Regions from separate parts of the Homo sapiens genome. Here regions 2 and 3 are each linked to region 1. Evidence: promoter capture Hi-C in human tissues and cell types (Jung and others, 2019). All regions are on one chromosome and are shown on one strand. The core of a region is centred on a gene start or on the middle of the fragment in contact, and the rest is flanking DNA. Distances in the headings are between cores, read along the strand shown.

Region 1 (4,536 bases), core at 1,378-3,877:
TGAAGCAGTTCCTTGGTTTGGGGCCTCTGCCTCCATCTTCAAAGGCAGCAACACATCATTTCTCTGGCCCTTCAGTCATCACATCTCTCTCTTTTTTTTTTGAGACGGAGTCTCGCTGTGTCACTCCAGCTAGAGTGCAATGGCACAATCTCGACTCACTGCAACCTCTGTCTCCCAGGTTCAAGCGATTTTCCTGCCTCAGCCCCCCAAGTAGCTGGGACTACAGGCACGTGTCACCACACCCAGCTAATTTTTTGTATTTTTAGTAGAGACGGGGTTTCACCGTGTTAGCCAGGATGGTCTTGAACTCCTGACCTTGTGATCCACCCGTCTCAGCCTCCCAAAGTGCTGGGATTACAGGCGTGAGTCGTGAGCCACCACGCCCGGCCTATCACATCTCTTTCTCTGTCTCCTGCTTCTACTTTTAAAAACCCTTGTTATTACACTGGCCCACCCAGATACTTCAGCATAAGCTATTTTAAAGTCAGCTGATTTGCAACCATAATTTCATTGGCAATTTTCTTTTTTTTCTTTTTTTTTTTTTTGAGACGGAGTCTCGCTCTGTCGCCCAGGCTGGAGTGCAGTGGTGCGATCTCGGCTCACTACAAGCTCCGCCTCCCAGGTTCATGCCATTCTCCTGCCTCAGCCTCCTGAGTAGCTGGGACTACAGGCGCCCGAGTAGCTGGGACTGCAGGTGCCTGCCACCATGCTCGGCTAATTTTTTTTTTTTTTTGTATTTTTAGTAGAGACGGGATTTCACCATATTAGCCAGGATGGTCTCGATCTCCTGACCTCGTGATCCACCTGCCTTGACCTCCCAAAGTGCTGGGATTACAGGCATGAGCCACGGCGCCCAGCCCTCATTGGCAATTTTCATTTCCATTTCTCATGTAACAAAACATATTCATAGATTACACAGGTTCGGATGTGGGCTTTTTTTCTTTTCTTTTTTTTTTTTTACATGGGTTTTTGCTCTATTGCCCAGGCTGGAGTGCAGTGGCGTGATCACAGCTCACTGCAGCCTTAACCTCCCAGGTTCAAGCAATTCTCCTACCTAAGCCTCCAGAGTACCTGGGACTACAGGCTTGAGCCACCATGTCCGGCTAATTTATTTGTTGTAGAAACAGGGTCTCACTATGTTGCTCAGGCTGGTGTCAGTGTCAAACTCCTGGACCCAAGCAATCCTCCCACCTTGGCCTCCCAAAGTGCTGGGATTATAGGCATGAGCCACAGCACCTGGCTAGATGTGAACATATTTAGGGGGGCTGTTATTTTACCTACCATGATCCCCTTCTTCCCATCCGGACCTCCCAGCTTGTCTGGCATCTTCCCCCACCCCCAGCATCCTGCCTCCCCCACTGAGGTCTTCCCGGCTCTGCCTCCCTAAAAGCCCTTCCCACACTGACAGCATTGAAGCCAACCATCCTGGTCACACTGAGCTGGCATAGCTGTCATCCTCTAGAAAGTGAGGTCTGTCCACCCCGTCACTACCCACCACTTCCTCTGCCCCACTCTTCTTAGCACTTACCCACCTGGAAGGGTATCATGATGTACCTGGGAACTTGGATTTCCCCCATTTCCCTTCTCTGGGCTGCAGGTCCCAATCCAGAGGCTGAATCCCCAGGGACAAGAACAGCGCTAGGCACTTGGTAGATACTCAACAAATCTCTCTTGAGTCACTGAGAGGTGCAGTTTCCTTCAGTCTGTCTCCAGCACCCTGTGCGGTGCCTGCCCTTCAAAACATGTTTCTGGGCCGGGCGCGGTGGCTCACGCCTGTAATTGCAGCACTTCGGGAGGCCGAGGCGGGCAGATCACTTGAGGTCGGGAATTCGAGACCAGCCTGGCCAACATGGAGAAACTCCGTCTCTACTAAGAATACAAAAATTAGCCAGGTGTGCTGGCACATGCCTGTAATCCCAGCTACTCGGGAGGCTGAGGCAGGAGAATCTCTTGAACCCAGGAGACGGAGGTTGCGGTGAGCAGTCTGGGCAACAAGAGCGAAACTCTGTCTCAAAAAAAAAAAAAGTTTCTGGCCCTGTAGGAATGACTGACTGACTGACTGAAAGAATGAATGGACCAGGAACTAGTCTGAATATGAGCCCCACCTTCACTCTGGAAGCCTGACAGCAAAGACGGGGGTCCAGGCCACGCGGCCTCTGCCTTCCCATACTGTCTTTTCTAGTGGGAGGTAAACTGATCAACTAGCTTGTAAGTTTGTAGTATTCTAACGTAGGCGCTTCCAAGGAAGTCGCTGAATATACTTGTGCCGGCGCTTCCCCGACGCAGCCCTGCAGGGAAGGATCCGGTCCAAGGTCTCTCTGCGATTTCTGAAGAATTCGGTCTTCCCGGAGCCTCTCCCCCGGCTCTTCTAGAACCGAAGGTTTTAGTTCCCATGGGCACAGCCGGAGGCCGCCTGCGCCACCCGGCCCTCAGCCGCCAGAACCAGGACAGGACTCCAGGGCGCGCGCGACCGCTGGACCCGGGAGCGGCACCTCCCACGCCGGGAGCCCCGGGCGGTGCCCGGAGTGGGGCGGGGCCTGGGCGGGGATGGGGAGGGGCTTGGCTGGCGCGGCCCCGGCATTGGCTCCGCGGGCCGGGGCGGGGCTGCGGGGTCCGCGGTGCACTCTGTAAGTTCACCGCCGGTCGGGTCCGGCCGCCGCGCTGTCCAGCTCCTGAGACCTTGCTGTCCGCCGGTCTGCCGTCTGCGCGCCTCACGGTGAGTTCGGGCTGGGATTTTCGCAGCTTCGCGGGGGTCCCCCGAGAGGCCCATCTCTGTGGCGCCCCGCCCCAGCTCGCGCCCTGGCTCTGCCTCTCACCTCACTCAGTTCCTTTCGAGGGCTCCTAGGGCTCCATGGGGCTTCCCACCCGCATCTGGGTTCCCGCAGCCTCGCCCGTGCCCGCCACGGTCCGTGGGGGCGCAACGCATCCCGACCCCGAATTCCCCGTTCTGCCCTCCATTTTGTGTCCGGGCCCCCGCCCCCCTCCCGAGACCCAGGGGTGCCCCGCCGCCCAGCATCCCCACCGGGGCTGGGGGCCGTATTTTTAGCCGATAGTGAGTTGTTCTCCTATCTTTAGCTGCGGCCGCGAATGTCCTGAAACGGATCCGGGCTGGGCTGGGCTCCGCCCGGGTAGGAGTGGGGAGGGGTCGGCGCAGGAACCCGAGCCGGAGCTAAGGAGCCGGACCCGTGGGAGGGGCGGGGGCCCGCACGCCCGAGCTCTGGCCCTGTGCCGAGCGGACACTAGGACATCGCCCAGGCCGGAAAGCACAGGGGGGAGGCTCCTCCCAGAGCTTGGAGACTAGGGCAGGGTCCCCAATCGCCCCCTTTTTCCCCGATTGTGGGACCAGAAACCCCGAAGCAAAAAGATCTCGCAGGTAATCCCCATCTGGTACTTGAACGCGCAGCTCCTTGGGGACCGCCTGCCTGGAGCCCGGGGGAGGGGCGCTGGAGACCCCGGTGCGCTCTCGGAGTCCTCCGGGACACGAGGCGATCAAGGGAGCACGCGCGCCACCTGGCGGCCGCGGAGCCGGGCACCTCTCCGGAGGCACCGGGACCCCGGGAGACCCAGCGGCCGCTAGAGGGTCTCTGCATCCTCGAGGTCTAGGAGGGCGGGAGGAGGTGGACGCCTGGGGTCAGGAGCCCTTCGTTTTTGCTATTGTTCAAAGCACTGGCCCCGGAGAATCGAAGTGCTTGAGGAAGGAAGGCCTTGTAGATATTTGCTGAATGAATGATAAAACCTACAGTGACCCGCTGAACCCCGCTATTGTACATTGGCGCTCTCACCTGCAATATTGCAGTGGGATCTCCAGTGGCCCTTTAGTGGTGGCTTCGTTGTCAGCCCATTTTATAGATGGGAAAGGTGAGACCCAGAGAGGAGAGGCGTCTTGCTGAAGGTTACTGAGGAAGTCCCAGGTGGAGCTGGATTTAAGGACAGTCTCCTGATTTAGGAGAAGAGGGGGTGTGAGGTGGCCTAATATTCTTCATGATAGGAGGATCCCTGCCTGCCGGAAGTCATTTTCTCATTGGGAGGTCCAGGGCTCCTGTCCAGGGCAATCACAGAGAGCTAGGATGCTCCTATCTGCTCCCCGACTGCTGCAGGGAGCTCCCCTCCCAGCTCCCCACAGCCCTGTCCTGATGGAGACCTCATTCTCATATCTCTGGACACATGAAAGTTGGGCAGACGGGGGCAGCCAAAGGTCAGGATGTAGATGGAGGAGATCTGGGGACCCACTGTTCCCAGCCTAGCTGTGAGCCCCTTTCTCTCCCGCTCCCCAAACATATTATGGAAGTAGGCGTGGCCCACTGCATGGGAACCACGTGGACCAGGCTGGGTACCCACTCTTCCACTTCCTAACTGGATGACGTCGCCAATGTTACTTAACATCTCTGAGGTTCAGCTTCGACTTCTGTAAAGGGCCGTAATGACCCCACCATGCCGTGACTGGGAGCTTTAAGATGAGAAACTGTGCGTGGCAAGCTGGATCCTAGGGTCTTGCAGTTGCCAAATCTAAATTCCTGGGGCGTGAGGGTTGTAATT
Region 2 (4,536 bases), core at 823-3,322, 470 kb before region 1:
GGCGTGAGTGCTCAGGATGCCTCCAGGCCTGACCGGCTCTCTCACTCCCAGCCCTGCCTCCCTGTCTGGACGAAGCTTTTGTCTGGTCAAGAACGTCCTCTTTCCTCACATCCCAGATACCTCCAGGAAGGGCAACTCCAGCCACTCCCAGGCACTTTCCAGGCCTGGATTAGCCCCAGGTTTTGGGAAGGAATTGGGTCTTAGGGAGGCAGGAGTGATCAGTCAGGATGGGGGGCAGCTGTGGTCTGGCGCCCTGCCTCAGTTTCCCCCTGCCAGGAGGTAAACTCCCTGCCAGCTGGGCGGGTCTGTGGGTGGGACAGAGAGCTGTTCCACAGGTTTATCAGGCAGAAGCCCGCAGCGGGGGCGGGGTGGAAACCTCATTACAGAAATTCATTGTCTCTTTCCCAGGTCTGTGTGTGGAGCTGGGGAGGAGCAGCCCCGGGCCTCCCCGTGGGAGTTGAAGCCAGCACCATAGGGACCCACCCGCCAGAAGAGGGCCGAAGCCCAGGCCCACAGGCAGGAGGATCCAGGCCCCTGGACAGGCTGCCTAATCCTCTGGCCTCCCACAGGGCATGGGGGCTCCGGGCAGGAGCAGGGACAAGTAGAGACAAGCAGGAGAGGAATGAGTCACAGCCCTTTGAGTTACCTTGGGAGATTGTCAACAGAGGGCCCCCATGCCGGGGTCCCAGGCAGAGGTGCTGGAGGCAGTCAGGGAGGAGCACACATGTGTGTGCAAACACACACACGTGTGTGGGTGTCATGGGGGGGGTGACAACAACACAGGCAGACAGGCATAGCACGGAGGCATACCAGGGAGACAGGCACAGAGGCAGGGGCCTCTGACTGCCTCGCCCTGGATGGAAGGGTTGGGGCTAGGGGACAACTCCCTGGCACATCTAGGTGGCAGCCTCCCCCTCTACCCCAGGCCTTGTGCCTTCCCAGAGCTCAGGAGTGCCAGGAACGCTAGTTGCCCACTGGGCAAACACCTGCCTCACCCCGCCCTGGCCAGGCCCCCGTGCCTTTTCCCCATGGCCCGGCAGGGTGTGACCAGGGAACCCTCCAGCTGGCGCCAGTGCCCACAGTGGGTTCAGGGTCACCCCGGGCCAGCCACTCCCAATGACTCAGATGAGTCTACCAGGAAAGGTACAGACCCATCTCCAGCTAGGCCCCCCTCCCCGGCCCCGGCGCCACAGCCCCCAAGGAGCTTGGCCAGCAGCCTGCACAGGCCAAGGGTTGGAGATCGGTTCCTGAGTCCAGGCTGCAGTGGTCTTGTACCCAGGGAGCTGGGGGTGTGTGTGTTGGTGGGGGGAAGGTCTGCAAGTGTGCGATACCTACAGATCTGTGTGTTTTGCAGTGCCAATGCGGTCGGGGTGGTCTGCAGCGCTCCCTGGGTCTCTCCATGAGTTGTGTGTCTCAATGCATCCGAGAGGAAGGAGAAACAGAGCCCGTGTATCAGTGGGTGACATGCATGAGGGTCTGTGTGTGTCCTGCGTCAGGTGTGGCCTGTAAGCAAGGAAATCTGTAAGGGACTCTAGGCGGTGCACTGGGTACATGCGTCTGCGGTCGATACCTGAGCACAAGTTGGTATGTGTGTGCATGTGTCGGGGTCTGTGAGAGGGAGAGAGCGTGTGTGAGAATTGGAGTGAGGGTGAGGTGTGCAGGCGAGTGTGCGGGCCGCGGGGGTCCGGTGGTACGCGTCAGGGCCACTGCAGGGAGTCTGCGAGGGAAGCCCGTGGGGGTGCGGGTCCCTGCGGGAAAGTCTGCGGGTGCGGGGGTCTCGGCGCGATATCCCTAGGCCCGCCCCCGCTCCGTGCCGCCCCGCCACTCACCCCAGCTCAGGAACTGCGCCACGCTGCGCTCCCGCCGTAGGGGGCCGCTGCTGAGCTCGTGGTGCAGCGCCAGCAGCAGATCTAGGAGGCCGTCGAGCCCCGGGCAGCCGCCGGCCTCGCCCCGCGCCAGCTGCTCCAGCGCGCGCAGCCGCCGCTCCATGGCTGCGGCCGGAGCCTCGCTGCTCGGCTACAGTCTGGCCGCCCGCATGCCCGCCTGTCGGGCCGTCCGTCCGCCCAACCGTCTGAGGCTCTGTCCGCGCGTCCTCCCCCGCCCCTCTCCCGCCCTCCCCGCTGTCACCTTCCTCCGCCGCCGCCAGCGCGCCCTCACCTGGGCGCCGCGCCCCGCCCCCCGACGGACGGGCAGGTGCGCGCCGGCCAATGGGAGCCGCGGCTAGAGGTGAAGGTGGGGGCGGAGGCGCGCGGGGGCGGGCCCAACTCCCGGCCAGGAAGTGCGGGGGCGGGCCGGGGAGAACAACTGACTTCTGCGCGGGGCGCGGTGGGGTTCTGCGGGGTCGGAAAGACTCCCCAGATCCCCGCGCGGCCCCAGACCCAGACTTACCTGGGCCCTCCCTGGGCCCTGACCCAGGAGGCGCGGAGCACTGCAACTTCTCTCGCCCCCTGGGTCGCAGCCGCCTTGCCCTTGGCTAAGAGAGAGGGGCTAGGGACGCCCGCGGCCCCGGAGCCGGATGGGAATTGTAGTTCGCTCTCTCCATGGTTTGCCCGCGCTTGGCACCCATCGCCCCCCCGCCCCCGCCCAAAAAAAAGTTTCTGAATCTTACTTTGATTGTATCATTAGAGTTGATGTGGGAGACAGGAAGTTGGGGTAGGGATGGTCACGCCCATTTGGCAGATGGACACACTGAGGCTTGGGAAGGAGGAAGGCGAATTGAGGGGCTGAGGACAAGGTGGCTCTTAAGTTAGACCCTGGGGTGGAGGTGGAGCTGGGCTGGTACCAACACCACAGGCGTTTTAAGCTTCAGTAGGAGCAGGGCCTGAGGTCTGACCTGGAACGTGAAGGGCAAGGAGAGGTCTGAGATAGGCTGGAGGAGGTTGGGGAGGGGAGGGGCTGGCTCTGTCCAGTGGTATTTCTGATTTCTGTCCAGCTGGGATGGACCAGGCACCATGAGGAGAGATCAAAGGGTGGGACATATTGGTGGCTTCAGACAACACTTTTTTTTTTTTTTTTTTGAGACAGGGTCTCTCTGTCACCCATGCTGGAGTGCAGTGATGCAATCATAACTCACTGCAGCCTTGACCTCTTAGGCTCCTGCCTCAGCCTCTTGAGTAGCTGGGATTACAGGCAGATGCCACCACACCCAGCTGATTTTTTATTTTACTTTTTGGAGTCAAGGGTTATTGTTATGTTGACCAGGCTGGTCTCGAACTCCTGGGCTCAGGTAATCCTCCCACCTTGGCCTCCCGGAGTTCTGGGATTACAGACATGGGCAACTACACCCGGCCTAGACAACACTTCTTTCTCTTTTTTGAGACAGGGTCTCACTCTGTCCCCTAGGCTGGAGTGCAGTGGTGCAATCGTAGCTCACCACAGCCTCAACCTCCTGGGTTCAAGTGATCCTCCCACCTCAGCCTCCCGAATAGCTGAGACTACAGGCTCACACCACTAGGCCAGGCTGATGTTTTGTTTTTTGAGATGGTGTCTCACGCTGTCACCCAGGCCAGAGTGCAGTGGCACGATCTCGGCTCACTGCAACCTCTGCCTCCCAGGTTCAAGAGAGTCTCCTGCCTCAGCCTCCCAAGTAGCTGGGATTATAGGCATGTGCCACCACACCCAGCTAATTTTTGTATTTTTAGTAGAGATAGGGTTTTGCCATGTTGGCCAGGCTGATCTCAAACTCCTGACTTCAGGTGATCCTTCTGCCTCGGCCTCCCAAAGTGCTGGGATTACATGCGTGAGTCACTGGGCCCAGCCATGTTTGTATTTTTTATAGAGATGGGGTTTCGCCATGTTGCCTAGGCTGATCTCAAACTCCTGGACTCAAGTGATCTGCCTGCCTCAGCCTCCCAAAGCGCTGGGATTACAGGCTGTAGCCACTGGCCAACACATTATTTCATTAAAAGACCTGTTTAGGGGTTTGCCTCTCCTCTCGTACTGGGACCTCGCTGAGATGGGGGCAGGATCAGGTTGAGGGAGGAGGTGTTCCATGAATGTTTGAAGCAAACAGGGTGTTTCTCCCCACGAAGGGTTTTTCATGTGATTATTTGTTTATTTATTTATTTATTTTAAAGAGACAGGGTTGCACTATATTGCCACGTTGGCCAAGCTGGTCTGACCTCAGGTGATCCGCCCACCTCGGCCTCCCAAAGTGCTGGGATTACAGGCATGAGCCACCATACCCAGCCTTTTTTTGAGACAGGGTCTTGCTCTGTCACCCAGGCTGGAGTGCAGTGATGCAATCTCAGCTCACTGCAGCCTCAACATACTGGGCTCAAGTGATCCTCCCACCTCAGCCTCCTGAGTAGCTGGGACCGCAAGCCTGCACCACCACGCCTGGTTAATTTTTAATTTTTTTTTTAGAGCTGGGGTCTCTCTACATTGCCCGGGGCTGGTCTCAGACTCGCCCTGCCTCCCATGTGATCTCCCCAGAGGCCCGCCCTGTAGCTACGCAGGGCCCATGGGCTGAGAAATGTTTGGGGAAACAGAGTCTGGGTGTATTACCTAAATCAACCAGAATGGGATGGGGAGCCA
Region 3 (4,536 bases), core at 1,066-3,565, 380 kb before region 1:
AAAAATGGTTCCATGCCTTCCCTTTGCCGGTGGGGTGGTAGTGAGGGAGTCTGGACTGTGAGGGAGTCTGGACTGTGGGGGGCCCCAGGAAAGGGAGCTGCCTCACCCTCTCTCCCCAGGGAGCAGCAGAAGGCCCAGGAGCGTCAGGAGTTATGGCAAGGTCTGGAGGAGCTGCGGCTACGCCGGCTACAGGGGACCCAGGGGGCCAAGGAGGCCCCCCTCCAGCGGCTTACACCCCAGGTGGCCGCCAGTGGGGGTCAGAGCTAGACAGCACCTCAGAAGGGGAAAAGCTAAACCCAGAGCTGTCAGTCCCTCTATCCCTTCTCCTGTCCAGGGGCCCAGAGAGAAACACACCTACCCCTGGCCTTGCCAGAGTGGCTTCTGAGGACTCCCTGCCCAGCCCAGCTTTCACTGGGGGGAGACGAGGAGAGGCAATGGTGGTCTTGGCAACAGAATGCTCAGCCCCTCGTGGCAGGACTTGACAAGGGCAAGCTTGACCAGGAAGCTGCCATCAGGGATCTTCCCCTGCCCCGCAAAGCTAGGCTCCAGCTGCAGGCGGGCTCCCACCCTCTGCTCCTGGCCTTGGGCAAGGGCACTCAGCGCCTCGCCTGCCCCTGCCTTGGCCAATGCGAGGTCCTTCCTTATCCCCACCATGGGGTCCATGGTCTATTTATTCTCGCCCAGCTCACCCTCTACACAGACACTGTCCTGGGTGCACACTCCTCCCTTCCCTCGCTGTGTACTTCCTTGTCCCCTTTTTATTTATTGGGCAGGGGGAGGGGGAGGGCACAGGCAAGAAGAGATTCACAGTGTCCTGGGGTAAGGGGGGGTTCACAGTAATCATGGTCTACTCCTCTTTCCGTGGCTGGGGGTAGACTTAATAAAGAGAGAAATTCAAGAACTGCTTGCTTTATTTAGGGGTAAGGGCAAAGAGGGAAGTAAAATGATGAAAGATTGGTTTAGAAGGGCCAGGCAGAGGCAGGGAAGAAGCAGAAACTCCCCTCTTCTCAGGTGACAGTCACAAAATCTTACAAAGGATCAAAGCTGGAACAACCCTCCCCTTATTTAAAAAAATTCCATAGCAAGTAACCATCAGGGCTGGAGCTCCTTCCAGTTTTTGAATCTTGAACACAGGTTTCCCCCACCAGAACGTCAAGCCCTGTGACCCAGGGGAGGAAGGAGGGGAGAGGATGGGCTAGTAGCGAGAGAGGCGACACATGTCACACTGGCAGGCCCTGGCCGTGAAGATCTCGAGCTCCTCCCTCCGGCTCCCCACACACTGCAGCTGTACTTTGACCTGCGGGAGAGGGGAGTCCGTGCTGCAGTCCCCTTTCTCAGGGCTGTCTAGGATCTCCATCTCTCTGGTCTTCCCGCGACCCCAGCGTCCATCCACCGGGCCCGGGCCCTCCTCACCTTCTTCAGGCCACTGATGGTGCAGCACTGAGAGACGGAGGTGATGTTGTGTCGGTAACCACTGGCCACCAGCACAGAGTACCGAGAAGGGAAGGCGCTGGACTCACAGTGGCCCACACAGGCCTGTGCCACGTGGGAGCCCTGGCAGGTGCCTTGGCGGTCACTTCGCACTGTCACATTGAAGGCTAGAAGGAGATAGGCAAGCAGTAGACGGCGCCTCTGCCAAGGTTTGCCTCGCCCCAGCTCCCGTTGCCTGTGCCTCAGTGTGGGGCCCTTTAGGGTGCTGCCTGCCCCACCGTCCACTCAGCTCTTTGCTCCCACCCAGAACCTCCACTGCTCCTAGCCCTCCGGTCCCAGAGGTACTCACGGTGCAAGTGGCAGCCTGGGATGACTGCCTCCTGGCCCCAGGCTTCAGTGACTGCCAGGACCAGCAGATAGAGGACCAGGGTTTGAGGGGACGCCATAGGCATCTGAAACACAGTGGGGAGATGTCTCTACGTGGGTGTGCAGGTGGGATGGCGAGTTCTTTAAATACTGCATTCCAGGTGAGTGAGCCAGGGCTGGCTGGTCTGACAGGTGAGGTGTGCCTGAATGGTGCTGCCTTTTCCCTGTATCTGCCTTTGTGTGTGTGTGTGTGTGTGTATGGGTGTGAGTGTGAGCAGCTGTCTCTGGAAAGGACCTGTGTGTCAGCCCTCTGTGCAGTGATTCTCCCTTCCCTGGAATTTTCTTCGCCATCTGGAGCGCAAACATCTTCCTCCCTCCATCTGCCCCATCTTGGCCTGCAGGGCCCTCGTCCACATTCCCAGACCCTCCCCAGAGCTCCTCCTGCCTCAGCGAGCTCACCACTTCCGAGGCCCAGGAACAGAGCGGCTTGCAGTTTTCCTGTGCCTCCTGCTGGTCTCCAGCTTGGTGCTGGCTCTCCAGGCTTTTATTTGCCAGCATTTTGGAGCCACGCCCTCTTGGAGATCGGCTTTCAAACCAGCCTCCCCTGCCTGAAGCCTCAGAGCGATCCCACCTGGGGGATCTTGCTCTTTGAGGTGCGGTCCTCGGAGAGCAGCTCCTGCTGCTTTCTGCTTCTTTCTGTCCAAAAAGCTACCCACAGCCCAGGCCTCGATAAGTCAGATGTGGAGAGAAGCCTAGGAGCTGGTGGAGTGTGCAGCGTGTGTGCAGCTGACGACACAGGGGTCAAGACTCTTGGCTGAGTTGTGGACACCTGGGTTCTCTTTGCTCTGTGACCTTGGACAGAACATTTCCCTGTTCAGGGCCTGATCACCCCTAACTTTATTATTATTTATTACTATTATTTTGAGAGGGTCTGGCTCTGTCACCTAGGCTGGAGTGTGGTGGTGTTATCTCGGCTCACTGCAACCTCCACCTCCCAGCCTCCCAGACTCAAGCCATCCTCCCCCTTAGCCTCCTGAGTAGCTGGGACCACAGGCACACCACTATGACCAGCTAACTTTTGTATTTTTTTGTAGAGACAGGATTTTGCCATGTTGCCCATGGTGGTCTTGAACTGCTAAGCTCAAGTGATCCGCCTGCTTAGGCCTCCCAAAGTGCTAGAATTACAGGCATGAGACACTGTGCCTGGCCACACCCCTAATTTTAAAACCACTAAACTCAGTCCTGCTTGCCTTTTTCTAACTGCAAAGGAAAGGGATTGGGGAAGGAGATTCTTAGGGACAAGGGAAATTATACCAGTGGAGGTCTCCTGAGATGTGCTTGGTGGCAGGGCCGGGGGTTTGGGGGTTGCTGTCTGTTTCAGAGTTGCATGGCCACGGTATCAGTGGATGATTCGCATCCTGTGCTACAGAGTAACGTTCTGAGCTGGAGTGCTCCCCTAGCCCTGGAATAACAGGGACCTGACTCCTGAAAGGGCCTGAAGTTATCAACCCCAGCAAAGCTGATCTATTTGTCCAACTCTGGTTTTATAGATGAGGCAACTAAGGCTCAAAGAAAGAAAGTTACTAAAAGTCACCCAGCTAGTTAATGTTAGGGCTGATTTCAAATTCAAATCTGCTGTCCATCCATGGTGCTAAACTACACTTGAGCAAGAATGTGGCAAGCTGGAGAAAGACCCCCAGGCAGCAGTGGCCAGAGGGGTTGGGGCAAGGTGGAGAGCCAAAGGAAGCCTGTGGTGATTCTGGGCAGCCCCGCTTTGGGGTCATTGCCTCACTGATCTGCTCAGAAAGAGCAGGGCCAGTCACAGACTGCTAGAGCTAGAAGGCACTTTATAACTCACCAAATCCTACCCCCTCATTTTCTGGATGAGAAAATAAGAGCTCAGCGGAAAACAACTTCCCAAAGCTTCACTGTAAGCTAGTCAGAGTCAGGGCGGGCACTCACAGCTCCAGATTTGGAGCTGTGCTTCTTAGCAGCTTTGTAAAACAGGCCATGTTTGGGACAGTCGAGTAAAGGCTGTAAACGCAATTTGAGAGGAAGTGATGTTACTAATGTCACTAATCCTTAAATTCCCACACCCTACGGTTTCCCCATCAGCCCCCATCCCCTCAAGACCTGGGTCCTTGTTTGCCAGGTCCTCCGCAGCAGTCCACCTCTTCTCTTCTCCCCACCAAGGGTGCAGGCAGCATAGCAACAGGACGCAGCGGGAACTCAGCAGTTCAGCCCCTGCTCTCCCACTCTTGAGGGGCACCCTCTGGCATGTGACAGATGATGGCTTCTGTTTAAAGCATTTGGGTGACAAGGCTCATTACCTTATGAGGTAGCCCATTCTAATATTGGACATCTCTAACAGGTAAAAAGTGACTCCTTTGTTGTGAGCTAAAATGAGTTTCCCTACATTTCCATAGATCATTTTGGTTCTCCACGGCCACATGAGGCTAAAGTGTCTATTACAGATCAGTCCTTTAGTTGAAGGCAGCTCAGGTGGCCAGGCCTTCTCCAGGGGTGCCAACCTGGATTGACTTCCAGTTAATCTGATAAACGAATCTGCATTACTGTCAAACAGTTAAAGGGATAGAGAGGTGGGAAACATTTTGTCTATGGAGAGGCAACCATTTGGGGCCAAACTGGAACTGGGGAAGAGGTCTCTTGGGTGAGCAGGGCTCAGGACAGTGAGTCTTGAAAGACCCCATTCCCTAACCTCTGGCACAAACTCACCTA

What was found. The method cuts DNA at HindIII sites, captures the fragments that hold promoters and counts their contacts. A contact is called where the count stands out against the background at its distance.
Region 2: the fragment with the promoter of CDC42BPG here is called in contact with the fragment with the promoter of CDC42EP2 in region 1 in 1 of the 25 tissues and cell types used here (lymphoblastoid cells).
Region 3: a contact is called between the fragment with the promoter of GPHA2 here and the fragment with the promoter of CDC42EP2 in region 1, in 3 of the 25 tissues and cell types used here (dorsolateral prefrontal cortex, lymphoblastoid cells and spleen).

The regions. Positions count from the first base shown.
Region 1 is chr11:65,312,239-65,316,774 of GRCh38, forward strand. CDC42EP2 (CDC42 effector protein 2) reads left to right here and starts at 2,628. Exons shown (of 2, transcript NM_006779.4): 1 at 2,628-2,716. LOC105369344 (a long non-coding RNA gene) reads right to left here and starts at 2,451. Exons shown (of 3, transcript XR_007062727.1): 1 at 1,533-2,451. RefSeq lists silencers at 2,286-2,665, 3,126-3,255, 3,426-3,585. The HindIII fragment of the contact is 18,736 bases long and covers 1-4,536 here.
Region 2 is chr11:64,842,581-64,847,116 of GRCh38, forward strand. CDC42BPG (CDC42 binding protein kinase gamma) reads right to left here and starts at 2,073. Exons shown (of 37, transcript NM_017525.3): 1 at 1,830-2,073. The coding sequence starts at 1,989. RefSeq lists enhancers at 417-711, 736-1,548 and silencers at 1,763-1,812, 1,843-1,892, 1,903-2,252. The HindIII fragment of the contact is 4,484 bases long and covers 1,440-4,536 here.
Region 3 is chr11:64,933,578-64,938,113 of GRCh38, forward strand. GPHA2 (glycoprotein hormone subunit alpha 2) reads right to left here and starts at 2,316. Exons shown (of 4, transcript NM_130769.4): 1 at 2,257-2,316; 2 at 1,781-1,883; 3 at 1,414-1,598; 4 at 894-1,297. The coding sequence starts at 1,883. The coding sequence ends at 1,196. It overlaps PPP2R5B (protein phosphatase 2 regulatory subunit B'beta), which reads left to right. Exons shown (of 14, transcript NM_006244.4): 14 at 120-898. The coding sequence ends at 267. The HindIII fragment of the contact is 7,271 bases long and covers 1-4,536 here.